Linked DNA regions of Homo sapiens: region 2 is linked to region 1. Evidence: promoter capture Hi-C in 16 types of primary human blood cells and fetal thymus (Javierre and others, 2016). All regions are on one chromosome and are shown on one strand. Each heading gives the region's core, a stretch centred on a gene start or on the middle of the fragment in contact. The rest is flanking DNA. Distances are from core to core; before and after follow the strand shown. Region 1 holds the start of LINC01565 (long intergenic non-protein coding RNA 1565). Region 2 holds the start of DNAJB8 (DnaJ heat shock protein family (Hsp40) member B8).

Evidence for each region. Contacts are between HindIII fragments. The CHiCAGO score rates a contact against its expected background, and 5 or more counts as called.
Region 2: the fragment with the promoter of DNAJB8 here is called in contact with the fragment with the promoter of LINC01565 in region 1 in 1 of 17 cell types (endothelial precursors); the score reaches 7.2 in endothelial precursors.

What each region holds. Positions count from the first base shown.
Region 1 is chr3:128,574,469-128,578,067 of GRCh38, forward strand. LINC01565 (long intergenic non-protein coding RNA 1565) reads right to left here and starts at 1,618. Exons shown (of 3, transcript NR_125802.1): 1 at 1,347-1,618; 2 at 798-918. The HindIII fragment of the contact is 3,021 bases long and covers 1-2,139 here.
Region 2 is chr3:128,465,014-128,468,612 of GRCh38, forward strand. DNAJB8 (DnaJ heat shock protein family (Hsp40) member B8) reads right to left here and starts at 1,877. Exons shown (of 3, transcript NM_153330.6): 1 at 1,601-1,877; 2 at 263-423. The region is part of intron 2 of DNAJB8-AS1 (DNAJB8 antisense RNA 1); the gene reads left to right. The HindIII fragment of the contact is 7,883 bases long and covers 1,132-3,599 here.

The DNA of each region.
Region 1 (3,599 bases), core at 368-2,867:
TGAGGCCGGGTGCAGTGGATCACGCCTGTAATCCCAGCACTTTGGGAGGCCAAGGCGGGCGGATCATGAGGTCAGGAGATCGAGAACATCCTGGCTAACACGGTGAAACCCCATCTCTACTAAAAATACAAAAACAAAATTAGCCGGCTGTGGTGGCGGGTGCCTGTAGTCCCAGCTACTCAGGAGGCTGAGGCAGGAGAATGGCGTGAACCCGGGAGGTGGAGCTTGCAGTGAGCCGAGATCGTGCCACTGCACTCCAGCCTGGGCGACAGAGAGAGACTCTGTCTCAAAAAAAAAAAGACAAAATAATTGTCTTTTAATGACTTTAAAAGACATTGAGGTGGGTGTGGGGCTCATGCCTGTAATCCCAGCAATTTGGGACGCCGAGGTGGGAGGATCACTTGAGCCCAGGAGTTTCAGACCAGCCCAGGCAACGTAGCAAGACCCCATCTCTACAAAAATGTTTAAAACCTAACCAGGAATGGCAGTGCATGCCTGTAGTCCCAGCTACTCAGGAGGCTGAGGTGGGAGGATTGCTTTAGCCCAGGAGGTTGAGGCTGCAGTGAGCTATGATAGCACCACTGCACTCCAATCGGAGTGGCAGAGTGAGACCCCAACTCAAAATAAAATTAAAAGACAAGAGGCCAGGCGCAGTGGCTCATGCCTGTAATCCCAGCACTTTAGGAGACTGAGGTGAGCAGATCGTGAGGTCAGTAGTTCAAGACCCGCCTGGCCAACATGGTGAAACCCCATCTCTACTAAAAATACAAAAATTAGCTGGGCATGGAGGCGCATACCTGTAATCCCAGCTACTCAGGAGGCTGAGGCAGGAGAATTGCTTGAACCGGGAGGCAGAGGTTTCAGTGAGCCAAGATCATGCCACTGCATTCCAGCCTGGGTGACAGAGCAAGACTCCATCTCAAAAAAAATTAAAAGACAAAATGTGGACACACACATGGCCCCAGCAAGCAAGATTGATTACTAACTTCGTGGTGGCGTGCACATGCACACGATGTTCCACAAGCTCATCATCTATTCGAGTCGAGAGTATTCAGTTATCAGCCTCAGAAATCCAGAAGGAACCTCACATCCCAGGAGCCTCTGGCATTTCAGGGCCTTTCACTCCAAGGAGCCGCCTCCACCGGGCCTTCCCCAGCAGGATGTATATGGCCCTGTCTGTGTGCTAGGAGGAGAAGGGCAGGCCCGTGTGCTGTCTGGTGCTAGGTGTGAGACCACAGCCTTTCTGGAAAGGCTTTGTACTGTGCTGCTGGTGTGCAGACCCCGTGCGTGGTAGGGGCTTCAAGAATACGCATCAAATGAACCCGAACCCAAGGACGCTTGCTCACCTGTGTCATCTGGGGGTCTCCTTCCACAGGAAGCACATCTGGGCAGAGTGAAGGCTCCCAGGGCTCAGGTCCAGAAAGAGCTGGAGGCTCCTGAGAGCAAGGGGCCCTACTCGGCCATGAGCCCAGAACAATGCGAGCTTCACACACCGCAGGTGTGTGCGTGTGGGAGCCTCTTCCTGAAGCCTTGGGGTCAGGGGCCGGGGCCCAGCAGGCTGGGTTTATTGTCCATTGTCTCAGGCCGGGACAGGAAGCACTTTCTGTTCCCAATTGCTCGGGTGGATTAATTTACAGTGGGGAGCTCAGAGTCGCCCACGGCACCTGTTTTCCCCTCTGAGGGGCCAGCTTCCAGCTTGGAGGGTGTTTCAGGAGGGGTCTCCTCTGCAGAGACGTGGCCTCCTCCAGAGACCCTTGGCCACAGCCCCTGCCCGCTCCGTGCTGGGCCGAGGCCAAGGCCCTGGCAGCCCTGCCTGCTTGCCCGGGTCACGCTGCCCACCCACGGGGAAAGCTGAGCCCTGTGGAGTGCACACCATGCTGTCAGCAGTGAGCCATGGTGAGGCAGCCTCAGCAATGTGTCTTCTCTTTGGTTGGGAATCCGCTCTCTCTTCCAGGTTCAGGGGCAGGTGATGTATGCTTGTTTTCATTTGGTGAAGATCGTGAGTCCCATTTTACAGATAAGGACGCTGAGGCTCAGCAAGGTTGACTACACAGGTCGCGAATGAAGTGGTGGGATGCAAACCCGAGTCTGCTCCAGGTCCCAGAGCTCTCAACCTCAAATGTCTCAGGAGCCAACGAAAGCTTGTGACTGAGTGTCACCAGCTGGTGTACAAAGGGGGAGTGGCAGGAGGTGGAGGAGAACCCAGGGGTGCAGGCAGGGGGGACCCTGTGCCATCTCCAAGGGCAGCACTGCTCTACCCAGCCTGCCATGCCTTGAAGTAAGGTGGACCTTGTGTGGCCACATTTTTCCTTGTTAGTAACTCAGAAGATACATTTCTAGACACGGGGTAGGTCACAAAAGCCTGTCTGCAGGCGGCACATTGCTTTCCACCTCTGCTCTGTGCCACCATGCCAACACCAACAGTGAGCACCTGCTATATGCAGGTGCTGCCCGGGCACCTCCACAACGGGGACCCATCCTGTGTCTTCAGGCCCCCCCAGGCAGCAGGCACTGTGCTTCCTGTGGACACACAGGGGACTGAGGCTCAAAAGAGCAGGCTCCTGACCCTGGGCACCAGGCTGGTCTCGGCTTGCTCACTCCACCCCTGCATCCCTGCATCGGTTTTTCATCACCACTAATGCAGGAGGCTGAGGAAGAATTCTGGAGTCTGGTGGAGGATGGGGAAGCTGACCCTATTTCTATAGGTACCTCCCTCATTTTTGTAGGATGGCTCCAAGTCAGCCACCGAGACTGCCCCCTCTGCACTAACCATTAGCCAGCACTACCAGGATTGGCCAGCTTGCTCTGTGCCACTTGTTTTATTTATTTGTTTGCTGGAGACAGGGTCTCGCTCTGTCACCCAGGCTGGAGTGCAGAGGTGCAATCATAGCTCACTGCAGCTTCCACCTCCTGGGCTCAAGTGACCCTCCCACCTCAGCCTCCTGAGTAGCTGGGACTATAGGTGGGCGCCACCACATCCAGCTTTTTTTTTTTATTTTTTGCAGAGACAGGGTCTCGCCATGTTGCCCAGGCTAGTCTTGAACTTCTGGCCTCAAGCCATCCTCCTGCCTCAGCCCCCCAAAGTGCTGGGATTACAGATGTGAGCCACTGCACCTGGCCTATGCCACTTGTGTACTCCACCAAAATAAGCTTGATTCCCTGACTTCGGTGGCTTAAGATGGCTGAGCTCTCACCCTCTCTGCCCAGGCCCCTGCCCACCTGCCCTCTGCCCCAACAGCCACCTCTGCTAGGCTGCTTCCTCCTACTCAGGCAGGGTGGATGGTTCATTGTGTGGCCCCGGATCCAGGTTCCCCCACTGCCTCCCTGAGTGACAGGGCTGCCCTTTGTGGAGGGGGAGATTAGAGGCGGGCTGGAGGCTGCGCAGCCCTCCCTGGATGACAGGAGACATCAGCCCCGCACACCGCAAGGGCCTGGAGCGAGGAAAGCCTTGACAGGCCTGGAGGGGATCCAAGAGGGGAGCCAAGGAGGGGGCAGGCTCCTCACACACAAAGGCCGGGCCTGTCTTCACACCTGCGGGGATGAACAGAGCCCAGGGCCGGGAGAGGTGGGGGCTGTGGGGGGATGAATAATTCGCTCTG
Region 2 (3,599 bases), core at 627-3,126, 110 kb before region 1:
CCCTTCTTCCTCCTCTTCCTTTTTCTAGTCTTCATCCCTTTCTATTATCCTCCCTCTCTCTCTTTTCTTTCAGTGCTCATGGGTGCTAGGTTTCAGGCTCCTAGCAGGGGACAGTGTGTGTTCTAACCAATCCCAAATGCCAGGAGGAATGGAGACAGACTGTAGAGACACTTTGTAAACCCAGCCTCCAGTGACCATCGCTGTCCCTCCATGCAGCTTATCAAAAGCACGACTCGCACCCCCATGCTGGGCATCCACCCACCTACACCTGCTGACACATGTGGCTTAGCAGAGGAGTTGAAGAGCAGAACTTCTCCACTGGATGTAGCTACAGATGAACCTGATTCTTTATCTCTGTGGCTGGATTTTTGTCACTATGTCTCGGTTAGCAGTTAGCACCTGCTGTCCCTTGCAGGCTTGTTCCTGGGGCGGGAGAAAGATGCTTGCCCTGCACAGTTCTCCATGATGGCGGTGGCAGTGGGAGAGGCACTGCTGTTGACTGTGTTGCTGGTGGGGAGAGGCACGGTGGGTGTCCATGGAGATGGATAAGGTGTCATTATATAGTAGAGGTGACCATGGGAGCAGTGTTGATGTGGAGGTAATGGTCATGGTGGGTGTGAGGGGGAGAGTAATTATGGGTGATGGTGGAGTTGATCATGATGATGGTGATGCTGGTGGTGACAGCAGCAAGGCTTGTGCTTGAGAGTAATTGATGATGGTAGTGGTGGTGGTGATGGTCATGCCAGAGGAGATGGTAACAGCGAGCCTTTGTTGTGGTTGGCAGTGATGGTGCAGGTATGATGAGGAGGTGATGGGAATGGCTCCTAGTGAGCCATTGGTGTGGTTGGCAGTGGTGACAGTAATGGTGATGATGAAGGTGAAGGTGGTGGAGGTAGCAGAGGTTGTATCTTGTTCGGCTATACCACAGTGACAGCTTCCACCTCTCAGTGGCTCACGACAAACATCTAGTTCCCCCCACTTCACTCACTGGTGCCTACAGGCAGCTGCCAGGGCCCCACCTCCCATAGCTTCTCACTGTGGGTCCCAGGCTGGAGAATCAGCTCTGACCTGCACACCCCTCTCTCATGACAGTGCCACTCAGAGACAGCAGGAACTTGGGCTGCCTCTGAAAGCTTCTGTTGGGCCATGATGTGTGGCAGTCTTGCTGCATCCCATGGTCAAGGCCAGTATCCATGGGGCAAAGAATGTTTCCTTCAGGAAGGTTCTGCAAATCTCAGGGCAATAGGAAGAGAGGCCTGAGATTCCCATGGGGAAGAGGGAGTGAGCAGTTCTCCAACATATGCCAGATGCTCAAGATGGGACTGACAGCGGGGCTGGTAACGATGGCTCTGCTGGGAGCAGTGTTGGTGCTGCTGGTGCCGGGGACACCCGTGGTGGTGATGGGATAGGAGGCAGGAATTGTGCTATTAATGGAGGATGGTGGTGAGGGTGGTTGTGGAAGAGGCAATGGTAGAGGGGGGTGCCGAGGGGTGAGAAGGACACAGTGGTGGACATGCTGGTGTGAGTGCCGATGGCGATGGTGATGGCACTGAGGTGTGGGGCTCTGTATTTTCTGTTGCTAACTTGGCATTACACCAACCTCTTCCATGGTCTCCTTGCATCCTGGAGAAATCTGAGGGATTTTCCAGAATCCCATCACCGGTATAATTCCAGACTAGAGCCTGCCAATACAAGGGATTTGGAGAGTGGAAAAGAGAGGCCGTTGCAGGCAGGTGACAATGGTGAGCTTTGCAACAGCTCGGGGCAATCTTCTGCGAAGACCCTGCTTCTGAGCCACAGGCTGAGGCATGGATGGGGAGCTTCCTGGAATACCGTGAGCTCCTCAGCAGCTCCCAGGCAAGCTCTAGAGAGCCGCTCACCTGGGAGCTGCAGGTGAGCATCTCGATTCCTTGTTCCCTGACCGCTGGTCCCAGACTGTTCAGGGTGCAGCGTGTAGTAAATGTCCTCCTCCTTGGTACACATTTGAGGGCTGTGTACTGTGAGGGTGATGGCGGCTCAGATGAAGGTGGTGGTTGTGATGGAGTTGGGTGTGAGGATAGCAGAGAGAAAGCAGATGGTGACATCAGGAAGGCATTGGAGGGGCAGTGGTGGTGGCAGTGATGATGGTGGCAGTCTAATTAGAGGCAGTGGTGGGTCTGGCTGAGGCAGACCCGGTGGTGGTGATGGTGGTGGTAGTAGAGGGGGCAATGACGGTGGTGATGGCAAAGGCGGTGTGAGTGGTTGATACTGGTGGCAGAGCTGATAAGGTGATGTCACAGATGGGATGGTGGGTGGAGATGGAGGTGGAGGAAGTGTGGTGACAGTGATGTGGTGGTGACACAATGCTGACACGGGTGGAGAGCACCGTGGTGACGGTGACAGAGATGATAGTGATAGTGGGGCTGGTGGCAGTGGTAGAGGAGATGGGGATGGGACGCTGGGGTGTTGATGGTGATGGTGACACTGCTGAGGGTGTTGGTGGCCTGACATTGTAAAGGTGAAGCCTGAAGTTTCCATGACGATGGAATCAGGACAGTGGAGGAGGGGTGGTGAAAACAATGTTAAGAGACAAAGGACCTAGTATGATGAGGCATCCAAGAATCCTGTGGCCGCCTCCCCGTCCTGGCCCTCCCTGCCTTGTTGGAGACCCTGGCTCTGGTCTGCGTTGTACTCCCAGGGGAAATTTCTTCCAGCCACTGCCCTGCTCCAACCCTTGTTCCTGGGATGGGTCTGTGGGAGTCAGCCAGGATGGAGACAGGGCTGGAGACCCCCTCACTGCCGCCCATTCAGGGCTGTCTTAGGGCACACAGAACAGACCACTCGGTAGGACTTACGGGAACAGGTGTGTCACCTGGGAGCAGGTCCCACACCTCACCATCAAGGGCATCCTGAGATGGAGGCCCCTGTGGGGAGCTCCCCATGAAGGGAGCTGTGGACCGTGGAGCCGGGCAGTGTGCAGAGGAGTTTCCCTTCTGCAAAGGGTTCAGGCTAGTCTCCTTCCACGCCAGTTTTTGGGGAGCCAGTGGGGAGCATCAGGGGCTCTGAGGCCTCCATAGGGCCTGCTGGAGGGACAGGGACACACAGGCATGAGCGCACACTTAGGCCCCACACGCTCCACCGTCAATTCTGTCAGGCCACCTCCCCTCTTCAAGCCTCTCTGTCCTCATTCACCAGTGGGTGCTTTTGGGGATTTGCCCTCTCTGGGGAGCCAGCCTAGGCTTCCTGGCCTCAGATGTCCCATGTCCCTCATCTCAGGCCCACCCTAAAGCCAACCCCGAGCCATGGCCAGGGAGAGAAGGACCTTCAGCGACCAAGCGAGGCCCAGAGAGGGCAGGGCACACCGAAGGTCACACAGCAGTACCAGGAAGGTCTCCCCCGGGCGAGCTGATGGAGCCGATTAAGCAGCCAATTGGTATTCGGAGCAGCCAGAGGCCCCTCTCTGTCTCTGTAATTAATGGAGTGGCTTTTTAAAAGGATTCTAATCACCCCCGATCCTATCTGCTTATCACTAGAGTTCCTAATTAGATGATCCTGGCAGTCACTCAGCTAATTCCCTCCAGCCCCCTGCAGGCCTGCCTGGCCTGGGCAGCCCACCCCAC